Regions from separate parts of the Homo sapiens genome. Here region 1 is linked to region 2. Evidence: promoter capture Hi-C in 16 types of primary human blood cells and fetal thymus (Javierre and others, 2016). All regions are on one chromosome and are shown on one strand. The core of a region is centred on a gene start or on the middle of the fragment in contact, and the rest is flanking DNA. Distances in the headings are between cores, read along the strand shown. Region 1 overlaps DUSP29 (dual specificity phosphatase 29). Region 2 holds the start of ADK-AS1 (ADK antisense RNA 1).

The links. Contacts are between HindIII fragments. The CHiCAGO score rates a contact against its expected background, and 5 or more counts as called.
Region 1: a fragment that was not itself captured here is called in contact with the fragment with the promoter of ADK-AS1 in region 2 in 1 of 17 cell types (total B cells); the score reaches 6.2 in total B cells.

Annotation. Positions count from the first base shown.
Region 1 is chr10:75,047,640-75,054,803 of GRCh38, reverse strand. The region is part of intron 2 of DUSP29 (dual specificity phosphatase 29); the gene reads left to right. Among named protein-coding and RNA genes, the nearest start is that of DUSP29, 22 kb to the left of the region's middle. The HindIII fragment of the contact is 5,055 bases long and covers 744-5,798 here.
Region 2 is chr10:74,526,230-74,533,388 of GRCh38, reverse strand. It overlaps ADK-AS1 (ADK antisense RNA 1), which reads left to right and starts at 4,065. Exons shown (of 5, transcript NR_120673.1): 1 at 4,065-4,096; 2 at 5,397-5,623. The region is part of intron 7 of ADK (adenosine kinase); the gene reads right to left. It also overlaps the pseudogene MRPL35P3. The HindIII fragment of the contact is 4,742 bases long and covers 1,220-5,961 here.

The DNA of each region.
Region 1 (7,164 bases), core at 2,022-4,521, 520 kb before region 2:
TATTGGTAAGAGGCTAATAAGATAACCTTCCTCACAGGGCTGTATGGATTAAGTTGGGTAATGTGTGTAAAATAGTGCACTGCCTAGTACATAGGAAGTGCTCAGTAAAGTTTAGCTATGATAATAAAAAAATGATAAATGTAAGAAAGATTGCTTTCAATATCCCAAAGCAGTCACCAAAGGCCATTACTTCAAAGATACTCCTATTAATATTGTGGTATATTTCCTCCTAGACTTTCCGAATATTACTTTTGGTTTTGGAATTTGTTTTTATATAATTGTAACTATAATGATTATTCATTTTCTCTTATTTCTCACATAGCATCATTCATAAACATTTTCTTTTATTACTTCTTATATATTTAATTATAATAGACATGACAATATATCAGATGAACAGAAGAGCATTCATTTAACTACTTCCTTATTGTTGGGCATATCAGTTATTTTTATGTTTTCACTTTTATAAACAACACTGCAGTGGACATCTTTACACATAATGTTTTTTCTATATTTAGAATTATTTCCTTAGATCTGACCCTAGAAATGGTACAACTGAGGAAAGATTAAGATTTTAAGACTTAAACTGTCTCTGTATCTTTATCCATGCTGTTCCCTTTGTCTAAAATGTCTTTCCCTGCACCTCATGTCCAAGTCCAGATCCTATGCATTCTTCAAAGTCCATTCAAGTCACTTCTGCCATGAAGCTAGCTTCCTCCAATCCCCATAGTGAGAAGTAAGCTTTTTCTCTGTATATTATATACTGTATTTACCTTTCCTATGGCTTATAATAATAATAGTTAAGTTGTATTGAATTCTTAGGTGGTAGGTGTCATGCCTTGTGCTAGGCATCATTTAGACTCCTCAACAACCCTATAAAGGAGGAACCATTTTACAAATATTATTCCCATTTTACAAATGGACAAGTCACAGCTCAGAGAGTTCATTCATTCATTCAGTCAGCCAGTAACCCTTTACTGGACACCTTGCTTGGAGCTGCGGGGGAAAAAAAGAAGACACTGAAGCTCAGAGAAATCAAGTGACCAGCCCAAGTTCTCACCACCAGAAAGGGGTAAAATTTATACTCAAATCCAGATCAAAAAAAAAAAAACATGGTCAGTCAGGTAAAGAAGCTGTTTCAGAGTTGAGGAGGGGAGAGGGAGGAGATGGGTAGAAATGTAACAGGGAACAGAAACAGCGGTGAGTACTAGAGGGGAAGGAGCACGGGGTTTGAGTCTTGGCTCTGCCAATTACCAGTTGTGTGACCTTGGACAAATTATTTTACCTCTCTTCACCTTATGTGGCAACAATAATGGGACTTATCTCACTGGGTGAAGATTAAATGAAATCAAACAAATGCTAGAGTAGTATCTGGCAAGTAGTAAATGCTCAGTAAGTGCTTGGTGCTATTATGGATCTGAGAAAGATCACAGAAGACATGGATCTAGGCTCGACTTTTGAAGATGGGTAGGATTTCAAAGAAATTCCAGGCAGAGGAAGCAGGATGGGAATAGCTACAGAGGTGAGAAAAGCAGGGAGATTCATCTGGAATATAGGGGATGAATGTGGTACACTTTCAGAAGGTCCAAGATTAAGCCAAATTCTACTGCTGTGTGGTCAGTTTCGATTAGCTGTGCTAGTCTAATAGCTCACCCCAACATCTTGGTGGCCGGCCACAGCAATGATTCTTTCTCACTCACAATGCAGTCCATGGTGGGCCAGCTCTGCTGCGCTCCCGGCCACTTTACTCTAGGACCCAGGGTGATAGAGCAGCCCTGATTTGAGATCTTGCCAGCCTTGCAGCAGAGAGAAAAGAGAGACCTAGCAAACCATAAGCTGATTTAGAAGTGACACATGCCATTTTTGCCCACATTTCACTGGCAAAAGCAAGTCCACGCCAAAGCCTCATGTCAGTGGGGCAGGAAAGTATAACTAGCGCAGCCAGAGGGGCTGCAAACGTTCTAACAATAATGCCATCTGGCACAGCCTCCTGGTCAGGTGCATTGGCTTTGGGCAGGTTATTTTACCTTTTCCTCAACTTGAAGAATAGTTGGCCAGGCGTGGTGGCTCACGCCTGTAATCTCAACACTTTGGGAGGCCGAGGCAGGTGGCTCGCTTGAAGTCACAAGTTCGAGACCAGCCTGGCCAACATGGCAAAACCCCGCCTCTACTAAAAATACAAAAATTAGCCGGGGATGGCCGGGCGCGTTGGCTCACGCCTGTAATCCCAGCACTTTGGGAGGCCGAGGCAGGCGGATTACGAGGTCAGGAGATTGAGACCATCCTGGCTAACACGGTGAAATGCTGTCTCCACTAAAAATACAAAAAAATTAGCCTGGCATGGTGGCGGGCTCCTGTAATCCCAGCTACTCGGGAGGCCGAGGTAGGAGAATGGCGTGAACCCGGGAGGCGGAGGTTGCAGTGAGCCGAGATCGCGCCACTGCACTCCAGCCTGGTGACAAAGCGAAACTCCGTCTCAAGAAAAAAAAAAAAAAAAAAAAAAGTAGACAAATGCAAATATTATAGTTAACAAAAAAGAAATCTGGAAAGGTAGGTCAGGGCCAGCTCATGGAAGGGTGAATGACGGCCAAGGGACTTTATTCAGAAAACCATTGAGTGTCTGAGCAGAACTGACGTGTTCTAGTTAATCGAGTGCTAGACAATAAAATATGCTTGCCTCCTTGATGTTTGACCTTGAACTTGCTTCTTTCAACCAAGAAAATGGAAAATGTCACTGCCCTTTTAATTCAATCCAACTGTGCCTAATCGAGCCCCAATACAAGCACACACAGGTGTGTGAGACTTTACACCCCCAGCTGAGGGAGGGAGCCTCAAGTCAGCATGGTGTGTGCTTGTCCCTGATTTCTGTGACACTCACTTAACAAGGTTAATGAGACTCACAGACGCTTATTGCAAGAGCAATTAACTCTACCGCCAATGCAGCCATGCAAAGGTTATAAGCTGGGCTGTGAACAGGCAAGGCTGCCTGTGTTTCTTGGTCTCTTTGCAGGGGTTGCCCAAAGCAGCCAAAAGCTCCAAGCTGGTTCCTCATGCACAAAGCCTCAGTTTTAATTTGATATTTACATTTCGGTTAGGTTTTTCCTTTCCCTAAAAGCACCTAAGATTTTTGAAAGCCCAGTACCAAGGCTCTGGAAGTGAAGGAGGTCAGGACCCAGGAGTAAGGATGGATGTCCTGGGATGGCCAAAGCTACTATCTATCCTTGGAGCCCAGGCCAGTGACTGTGGGGCCTGCAGCGGGGCATACTTACCTCTAAGATGAAGCTCACTCTTTTCCTTGCTCCTTTTTGTGGAGATAGGTGGAGCGGCCAAGCATCTGCTCTGGGTCCACAGTGTCTGGACTGAACACTGGTTTCTGTGTGGCCTTGGGCAAGTCACTCAGGCTTTGTGACTTTCAGCTTCTTCGCCTATGTGGATTCTATGCGTTAATGCAAGCAAAACATGTCTCACGGTGCCCAGTACATTCATCAAGTTTGAACTATGACAAATCAGGCAGGTTCTGGAAATTCGATTCACAGTGTATGAGGAAGGTAAAGCACAGTCACTGTGCCTTGCCACCCAGGGTCCCCCATGCTAGGGGAAGCCTTGGGAGAGAAAACAACCCTGGGTCAGATTTCTCCCATGAGAATTCTATCATGACCCAGGGCAGAGTGTTGGAAGGAGGGCCTGCTCTCCTAGGCCTTCCAGGGAGGTGACCTAAGGCCTAAGAAGGCAGCCATATCAAAGTTCCTTGGGCCTGCGGGTTTCAAAATCGCTAAAGCATTTTCTCCATCCCAGGTTAGCTCAAGGGGATTCACCAAGTGGGCTGCCTGGTAATTCCAAGTCCTCACTGCTCAGCAGCCCAGGGAAGGGGAAAGGTGGCCCTGCCAGTGCAGCCTGATGAGAAAAGGCCACAAACAGGAGGGCAACGTGGAGGGTGCTCACTCTGCCGGCTCAGCAGAGGGGTCGAAGGGGTGGGGCCTGGCTGGCCACCTTGCAGATATTCCTGGGGTTCGGGGGAAGTCTTCTTCACACAAGGTGTAGCCACCCACTCCCCACTCATTCCTCTAACTCGATAGGGGTCTGAATCTGCCACAAGTGGAACTGCAGGCTCAGCGTGGAGCGGAGGGCTCAGGCATGACTCGGCACAGCGTCCCAGTCCCCACTGTGTGTGGGTGGCCACCAACTATGGGTGGCCTTTGGCAAAGCATTTTATTGTTCTGGGACTCAGTTTCTTTATTTGTAAAATAAAGGATGATTTCGAAGGTTCCCTTCCAGCTCTAAAATAAAATTATTTAAGAAATGGCCTATTAAATGAATTAGGCTTTATTAGTTTCAAGCACACACTTGTTTTATTACTTTTAAGTCATTCAAATTAGATTCAAATTAGGTTAACCAAGTGTTGTCCTCCAGAGAGCCAGGGACTGGCGTCAATGATGAGATAAGAATAATTCATCACCTCTTATCAATCAGCAGTCCCTAAATGGGTGCTTCAAAAATGCTTGAGTACGCTCGAAAGCACTAAGTTTCTGTAATTTAAATATTCTCACTTTAATCTCGTTCACATCTTTCATTTGCTTAGCAAAATCTTTTTTCAGTCCTTTTTTTCCCTATAGTCAGCAGGAGGGGAAATATCCTGGCTACCATCAAAGTGATTGCAAATTCCTAGGCAGGGCAGCCTCCAGTGATAAGGCTTGGCTGAAACGGGATAATTGAGAAATCTCTCTTCCCTCTCCACAATGCGGGTGTCGGAGAGCCAGTGCCAGGGTGAGGTTAAACTTCTGCTGCTCATGGAATGGTGCGGGCCCTCAGGAGCTCCTTATTTTTGTGTAAACTACAGTTGCCTCCAAGGTCCGGCATTTGGGCTCAGATTCCTGCCAAGGCCTGCAGCCTGCCCCACCCACCCAGCCCAAGCTGGCTTTCCAGGGAACCTCTGTCTTGTCCTTTCTGCTTTTCTGCTTCTGACCAGACCCACAGCCTCAGAAGCCAGAGGCATCGCCACAGCTGGCCTGGCGTTGAGAGCCTGGGAAGTGAAGTGAAGGCAAGTCAGTCAGCTGAGACAGCTCCTTCTCCCCGAAAAGGAGGAACTAATTCCGCCTTAAGGCACCGAGCACGAATGAAATTAACCTGCTTCTTCGAGGTGTGGGTGGTGTGGCCAGTTTAGGATGCAGCAAAAAACAGTCAAGGTTGCGAATTTAACATGCTGGGCGTTACCTGAAATAACTAGGACTTCCAACTACTGAAGGCAACTGAGGCATAGCTGGGCAGCAGTCACAGGCAAGACGGTCGGGGAGAGAAGCCTGAGGCCCTGGCCTGGCCTGGCCTTCTCATTGCCAGAACACGGCTTAGCAGTCAAGGCCTCAAGCAACATAAACCATCTCCTTGCATGGTTAGGCAAATGCCGAGTCCAATCACTCACACGACATCATTTCTCAAAACCAGACCTCCTGGGTACTCTCTTCTCTTCACCTCCATCCTTGGAGGAATAGAGTTTGGGAGAGTGGGGCAGACAGGAGATTTCCAGTAGAAGTTAAAAACCCCGAGGCCACCTTATGCCTTTACAATGGTCTCTCCTGAAAACTAAGGAAATAACAATACAAATCATGCTATATTTACATAGTAAATGAATATATGACTCGTTCATTACTGAAAATGTACAAAATGTAGAAAGACAAAAACAAGAAAATTTAAACTACATATAATCCCATTACCACATTTTGTCATGGGATAAGCACATTCTGACATAAATCTTTCCACTGCCTTTTCCCCTTGGAGTCATCTTTTAACCTCTCAAAGAAGCTTCAGTATTGCATCATTCAACTTCACAAGACTCTCACAAGGAAAGTACTGCCAGTGTAATCGGTACTATTTAGCAAACAAAGAAAACGGAGGCTCCCAGCAGTTCTGCCACCTCAGTTCATGCGTCAGTTTCAGCTGTCAGCCCTATGTTTTCTCAGGTGCCTCAACACGGAGGAGCTTCACCCTCAAGTAACAAGAACACCCAAGACACCGGAAGGCCGGTTCATTTCACTTTCCCATCAGGTGAACTAACCGAGATCAGATGCCAGAAATGTGCCCACTGTTTTAAAGTCCACTTGCAAGGAACGGGCACACTCAAGACTGCACGGTTAAGACTCCACTGGGTTTGGGAGGTGGAGGCAGGTGGATTACCTGAAGTCAGGAATTTGAGACCAGCCTGGCCAACATGGTGAAACCCTGTCTCTACTAAAAATACAAAAATTAGCCACGCATGGTGGCACACACGTGTAATCTCAGCTACTCGGGAGGCTGAGGCAGGAGAATTGCTTGAACCTGGGAGGTGGAGGTTGCAGTGAGCAGTGAGCCGAGATTGCGCCACTGCACTCCAGCCTGGGCGACAGAGCGAGACTCTGTCTCAAAAAAAAAAAAGAAAAAAAAAGTAAACTACATGATTCCAGTGAACTGGGAAGAGTAAAAAAAAGGTTACAAAAAAAAAAAGTAAACTGCATGAGTCCAACAAATGTGTAAACAATGTCCATCACTGCTAAAATGAATCAGTGAAAACAAGACACCATTAATTTTTTTTGTCTATGAAATTGACAAAGAATACGGACTGCAATTTTTAGCAATTTTAGCAAGTTTTCTGTAGGGTAATTTAGTAACAAGTATCAAATGTATTTTAAAATGGCCATATCTGTTGACCCAGCAATTTCACCTTTAAAAATGTCTCCTACGGACATAAACAGAGGAGTGCCCAAAGAAACACATCAAAATGTTTGGTAAGAAAAAATTGGGACATACCTATATAATGAAATAGCATGCAGTTATTGAAGTCTTATATGTTGCCACAGGAAGATGTTTACAATATATCACGTCAAAGGTTTTGAAACTTTATATATATAGTATTGTACCAAAAAAAAACCTTTCTATAAAATATACAAATCTATGCATAGAGAAACAATGGGAGGTTCTTACATCAAAAGCTAACAATAGCCTTTATCTCCAGGGGAGTAGAAATACAGGTGATTTTTTTGGAGGGGGGAGTATGTTTTCTACATTCTACATTGAGCATGTGTTATTTTTGTCATGAGACGACATATTATTTAAAAATTGAACAGACTGATCACATCTAGGATTGTGCCTAACCAGAAACTAAAGCTCCTGTGTCATCTAGATTCTGGAAGTACA
Region 2 (7,159 bases), core at 2,816-5,315:
TAAGTCTTCAAATCATGTAAAGGTCTTCTGATTTGGTTTTTAAAATCCACGTTGGTTTGGCTACTCTAGTCCAGTGCTTTTCCATATAAATATTAGAATCAACTTGACTTTAAAAAAAACTTCTGAAATTCTGACTGAATTACACTAAACTATAGATTATTTTGAGTAGAATTTATATTTAACAATACAGAGTCTTCTAATCTATGAACATGATATATCTCCCATTTGGGTCTTCTTAAATTTTTTCAACAATGTTTTGTAGTGTTCAGTGTATACATCTTTGGTCTGGTTTATCCCAAAGTAAATACTTTGTTATACTTTTTGATGGTATTGGAAATCGTATTTTTAAATTTCTGGTTGTTTCTTGCTAATATAGAAAAATACATTTGAGATTTAAATTTTTTATTCTGTATGCTACAATCTTGCTACGTCACTTAGTTCTAATAGCTTTTTTTTTTTTTTTTTTTTTGAGACAGAGTCTTGCTCTGTCGCCCAGACTGGAGTGCAGTGGCATGATCTCGGCTCATCGCAACCTCCGCCTCCTGGGTTCTCCTGCCTCAGGTCAGCCTCCCGGGTTCTCCTGCCTCAGCCTCCCAAGTAGCTGGAATTACAGGCGTGTGCCACCATGCCCAGCTAATTTTTGTATTTTTAGTAGAGACGCGGTTTTGCCATGTTGGCCACACTGGTCTAGAACTCTTGACCTCAAATGATCCACCAGCCTCGGCCTCCCAAAGTGCTGGGATTACAGGCGTGATGCACTATGCCCAGCCAGTTCTAATAGCTTTTTGAAGATGACATCAGATTTTGTATGAAGATGATCATGCTTTTGATAATAGAGACAGTTTTACTTCCTTCTTTCTAAATCTGGATTTTTTCATGCTTCTACTATTCCAAGGGTTTTTTTTTTTTTTTTGACACAGTTTCACCCTGTTGCCCAGGCTGGCGTGTGGTGGCATGATCTTGGCTCACTGCAACCTCTGCCTCCCCAGTTCAAGCGATTCTCCTGCCTCAGCCTCCCAAGTAGCTGGAATTACAGGTGCCCACCAACATGCCCTGCTATTTTGTGTATTATTAGTAGAGATGAGGTTTTGCAATGTTGGCCAGGCTGGTCTCAAACTCCTGACCCTCACCAATCCCTATTGGGATTGCAGGCATGAGCCACCATGCCCAGCCTCCGAGGGCTTTTAACAGAAATAGATGTCTGGATTTTTCAAAAGCTTTTAGGATAATCATGTGATTTTTCTTTTTAGTCTTAACATATTTAATTACATTGATGGATTTCAAAATGCTAAACCAATTCTACACTCCTAGTCATGATGAATTACTCTTTTAATATATTGTTCGGTTTGATGTGCTAAAATTATTTGAAGAATTTTTACATCTGTGTTTATGAGGGATATTGGTCTGTAGTTTTCTTGCAATACTTTGTTTTTGGTATGAAGGTAATGCTGACCTCATGAAATAAGATAGGTATATTTCTCCCTCTTCAATTTTCTGGGACAGTTTGTATACAATTGGTACTACATCTTTCTGAAATCTGTGTTAAAATTCAACACTGCCAAGTGCAGTGGCTCATGCTTGTAATCCCAGCACTTTGGGAGGCTGAGGTAGAAGGACTCGCTTCAGTGCAGGAGGTTGAAACCAGCCTGGGCAACAAAACGAGACCTCCTCTCTACAAAAATTAAAAATTAGCCAGCTGTGGTGGTTTGCACCTGTCGTCCTAGCTTCTCGGGAGGTTGAGGTAGGAGGATCATTTGAACCCAGGAGTTTGAGCTTGCAGTGAGACATGATTGTGCCATTGTATTATAGCCTGGGTGAGAGAGTGAGACCTTGTCTCAAAACAAACAAACAAACAAACAGAAAAGAATTAAACACTGAAGCAATTCAGCCTTTGAAGTTTCTTTGTAGCAAGGGTTTTAACTACAAATTCAATTTCTTTAATAATCTAAACAGACTTTTTCTATTTCTTCTTGAGTATGATTTAGTACTTTGTGTCTTTTAACAAATTTGTCCATTTCATAAAGGTTGTCAAATATATTGTAATAATATTGACAGGAGGGACCAGAACATCTAGTCTAGAGCTGATTTTAACCTGCTAATGAGACAAAATTCCTTTTAATACTCTACTTGAAGCCTCGTGAATTACGAGGTTATCCACTCTGACTAGTAGGATAGGAATGGTTATAGGTCCTCATGTGTGCACTGAGGATTGTCTTCTACAATCTTTTTAGGTGGTTCTTTTTGTGGTCTTCCTTAATTTCTTCACAAAAATGCACTGATTCATACTCAGCTGAAGACTTGTTGGGATTCTGCAAATGTCCTGTGTTCTCCCTCTATTCAGCTATTTCTTCTCTGGTACTTTTAACTTACAAACACTAGCTGTCTTAGACTCCTTGAACTTCCGGCTCCAACTCCTCATTAAAAGAGACTGCAAGGGTCTACTTGAGATACCCTTCTTTTTTCTTTTTGAGACAGAGTCTCAATCACACTGGCTGGAGTGCAGTGGTGCAATTTTGGCTCGCTGCAACCTCTGCTTCCCAGGTTCAAGTAATTCTCATGCCTCAGCCACCCGAGTAGCTGGGATTACAGGCGCACAACCACCCTGCCAGGCTTTTTTGTATTTTTAGTAGAGAGGGGGTTTCACCATGTTGGCCAGGCTGGTCTTGAACTCCTGACCTCAAAGGATCCACTCGCTTCAGCCTCCCAAAGTGCTGGTATTACAGGCGTGAGCCACTGTGCTTGGCCTTAGTTACCTTTCTTCTGTTGCCTGGAAATTATCTCCAAGGAGTTAGCTGGGGTAATCATCAGGTTTATCTTATTTATTTCTTGTCTCACAGGGATCATTGATCATTGCCTGTGAAGAAATAATCTTTGTGGACAAGGTATTATTTTTTTTAAATATTGAGGCTATCAGAAGTTTTAAATCATCATTACTACTGTACAATCCTCTGACAAGAGGAAGGTGACATGTAGAAAATAAGGGCCAAGTGTGTTTGATTTTAGCTGAGTTTTGACATTTTAAAAATTTATACTAAACACAGTATACTTTATTTTTTTGAGGGGGGAAATATTAAAGAATCCTACGTATATTCTCTGATAACTATATTTTATCCTTCGTCACATTTTAGAAGTAAAATGTCTCTTTTTTCCTGGAAAACTGAAGATAACATTATCACTATAGTATTCAAGGAGAAAAACAATGGATGATGAGATTAAAGGGATAAAGCATTTTACTCTACTTGCTTTTTATAATCAAATACGATATAATTTTTATTATCCCTATTAAATTTCATCACTCAACTGATATTTAGAGTCTACTAACATTTAAAAAAATCTGATTTTGACCTTCAACTTACCTAGTATGTATTAAGGTGTTGTATTATTTGCATTTGAATTATATGCAAATATAGCTTTATCTAAATCACTGTTTACTTAAGCAAAGGCAGGGTAAACACTGAGGCGTACCCCTAGAAATCAATTTATTTATCAACAGACCTTTTGAGACTGCTTCAATAAAATACCAAATACCTCTAATTGTCTTATAGCCAATCTTTATTATTCTATAGTCCACGTAATGACAGATGTTCTAAAATATACTATGTATCCACTGCTTATTGGTCTGCCATAATAGGTACTTAGGTACTATATAAATACCTCTTGAAGCGAATTCAAATGAACAATAATCATACCAAAAGAGAAAAGATTTTCTTGCCCCATGACTTACAGCCACGTAGCAGCTTACAGTTTTACCACTTCCTCTTCTAGGTGGGGAAAAATAATTCCTTTAATAATCTATGCTAAGCTGTGATCCAACTTTTAAGTTTACTGATTTGTAGAATAAAACTTTTTCAAAAAAATTGTGGTAAACTATACATATGATAAAATTTTCCATTTTAAGTATGCAATTCATTGGCACTAAATACATTCACAGTGTGGCGCAACTATCACCACTATCCATTTCCAGAACTTTTTCATCATCCCAAACAGAAGCTCTGTACTTATTACACAATAATGCCTCATTCCTCCCCACCCCACTCCCAGGTAATCACTATCCTACTATGTGTCTCTATGAATTTGCCTATTCTAGATACTTCTTGTAAGTGGAATTCTTCTTAGAAAATCCAATAATTGTCTGATGTGTCTGGCTTATTTTACTTAACATAGTATTTCCAAAATTCATTCATGTTGTAGCATGTATCAAAATTTTATTTAAGGCTAAATAATACTCCATTGTATATATACATGAAATTTTGTTTATTCATCTGTTGATGAATATTTGATTTGCTTCTATCTTAGCTATTGTGAATAATGCTGCTATGGACATTGGTGTACAATTATCTGAGTCCCTGCTTTCAGTTATTTTGGGTAATATACCTAGAAGTAGAACTGCTAGATCATATGGTAATAATTCTATGTTTAACATTTTGAGGAACCACCAAATTGTCTTCTACATTCCCATTTTACATTCCCACCAGCAATACACAAGTGTTTCCAATTTCTCCACATCTTCACCAATACTTGTTAATTTCCATTTTTTAAAACAATTGTCATTCTGATGGGTGTGAAGTGGTATCTAATTTTGGTTTTGATTTGCACTTCTTGAATGGTTATGTTGAGCATCTTTTCATGTGTTTACTGGCCATCTGTATATCTTCTTCGAATAAATGTTTATTAAATTCCTTTGATCATTATTGAATTATGTTGTTAGTTTGCTTATTGTTGAGTTGTTACTGTGTTAAATATTCTGAATATGAATCCTTTATCAGATATATGATTTGCAAATATTAACTCCCATTCCACTAGTTGTCTTTTCACATTCTTGTTAGTGTCCTTCGATGCCCAAAAATTGTTAATTTTGATGATGTCTAATTTATCTATTTTTTCCATTTGTTGCTTGTACTTTGGAGTCTTTTTTTTTTTTTTAAGTGAAGATTGTTTTGATATCATCAGCATCTGCTGCAAACTTAAACCACTTTTGGGACTTTCTTTTCTCTTTTGTCTCTACCAAACTTTTAGCATCATTCCCTGATTCTAAATACATTTTCCACCTTCTTTTTACATGTCTTTTACAAATTTGAGCTTTTTTTTTAAGTTTTAAAACTTTTATAAGTTCAGTGTTGTCACTGTATGTTTACATATTCATTGATACAATTTACATCGAGATTTTTACTTATCCATTTTTGCAGATATGTACACAAAGATACATATTCAATAACTGAGAAACAAGTGAAACTTCTGATCTATACTTTCAGGTTTGTTCGATCATGACACTTCTGATAAGGATCATGGACATACCAGTTTCACCTCTTCCAGAAGGACGTCGTCATTTTATCTTAAGAGTTTACTCTGGGTTTTATTGCCGAATACAAATTCCCTCAATCGCTTTTTTCTTGCAGGTGCCTTTTTCCATAATTTTTTCTTATAACCAGCCCTTCTCATCCAAAGGCCACAATGAAGTCGAAGAAACCTATAGATGACAGCTTTCACAATCCTTCTCTTGCCTTTTCCTGTACTGACGTATGTTAGAGATCTGGCTGGCAGCTTCAAGACACTTGGAAGCAAGAGGGCCACTCTATTAAGGATCGCTGAAGTATGCCCACATGTCAGGTTTCTCTCAGATGTGGTAAGTCTGGGAGTGGAGGAAACAACTGGTGTCTGAATATGACTAAAACGTCCAGTGGACAATGCAGAAATAAGAGAGGCATTTTTGACACAGTTTTGGTAGGCTGAAGATGCCAAAATATTCAGAGGCCATAAGATTCCTGAAGCTGCTCTCACTGCACCGGCAAAGGCAGAGGCAGCTATCTCGTTATCCTCCAAATTTGAGCTCTTATTAAAGAGTTTTCTGCGTGCTCTGCTATATTTTTTCAAAAGGTCCCTCCACATTCTCTCCTTAATTAAGATCATTTGTGACTATAAAGTCCAAATAGCATTTTTTATGGCATTCAATCTCCCTAAGCTTTCTTTACTTCCAAAGTTTCATTCTTTGGAATCATATTTATGTTTTTTTTTTTTTGTTTGTTTGTTTTTTGAGACGGAGTCTCGCTCTGTCCAGGCTGGAGTGCAGTGGCGCGATCTCGGCTCACTGCAAGCTCCGCCTCCTGGGTTCACGCCATTCTCCTGTCTCAGCCTCCCGAGTAGCTGGGACTACAGGCACTCGCCACCACGCCTGGCTCATTTTTTGTATTTTAAGTAGAGACGGGCTTTCACCGTGTTAGCCAGGATGGTCTCAATCTCCTGACCTCGTGATCCACCCGCCTCTGCCTCCCAAAGTGCTGGGATCACAGGCGTGAGCCACCGTGCCCGGCCTCTTTGGAATCATATTTATCTTTTTTAAAAGTTTTAAGATTTGTCTCTTAAACTCTAGAGAACTTATTTAAGTGCTGCCAGTCTGATCTTTCTTGACTATTTAGAACTCTGAGACCAAATGTTAACTTCTCCCAATGATTCTCAAGACTACTGAGACCAATGCTTTAATGTTATTCAAAAGGCTTGAATAGCACTTTTCCCATTTACTTCTTTTACCCTTTACAAAATAAAACTGTTAATAAGGAAAAACTAAATGGTAGATCTTAGTCAAATTAGGCTTCTAGCAGTTATATGGCACTTGGCTATTACCACTATTTCTTGCCAGTATCTCAATTTGTGAATTATCAAGAATATAGCATTTCCTTCCAATGTCACCATTTATAACCAATGTAACCATCACCTTTGCAGATACACTGTGATATTATTTCTATGGATCATCCTTTAATCTTTACCCAGGTGATCTCGTAAACTTCCAGGTCAATTTTTATGTTATTCTAGGCAGATGGCAGTTATTAGATATAAAATTGATGAATATATTCAAACTATGTTAGAACTATGGAATTAGAATCAGAATGAACTTCTGGGATGATTAATACAATACCTTCATTGTATACATTAAACCATCAAGTGACATGGCCAAGTCATAGGAAGACACACTGAAGGATTTTTTCCTCTTTCATGGATTTTTAAAGAGGTATAAACAGTAAATAAGAGGTATAAACAGTAAACAAGCAATCAAAGTAAATAAGCATTTAAGTAAATAAGCATTTCCATAATTTAGAATGGAAGAAAATACATTCTTGGTAGAAAGAAAAAACTGTACTTGTTGAGATGAAATTCCATTTTATCA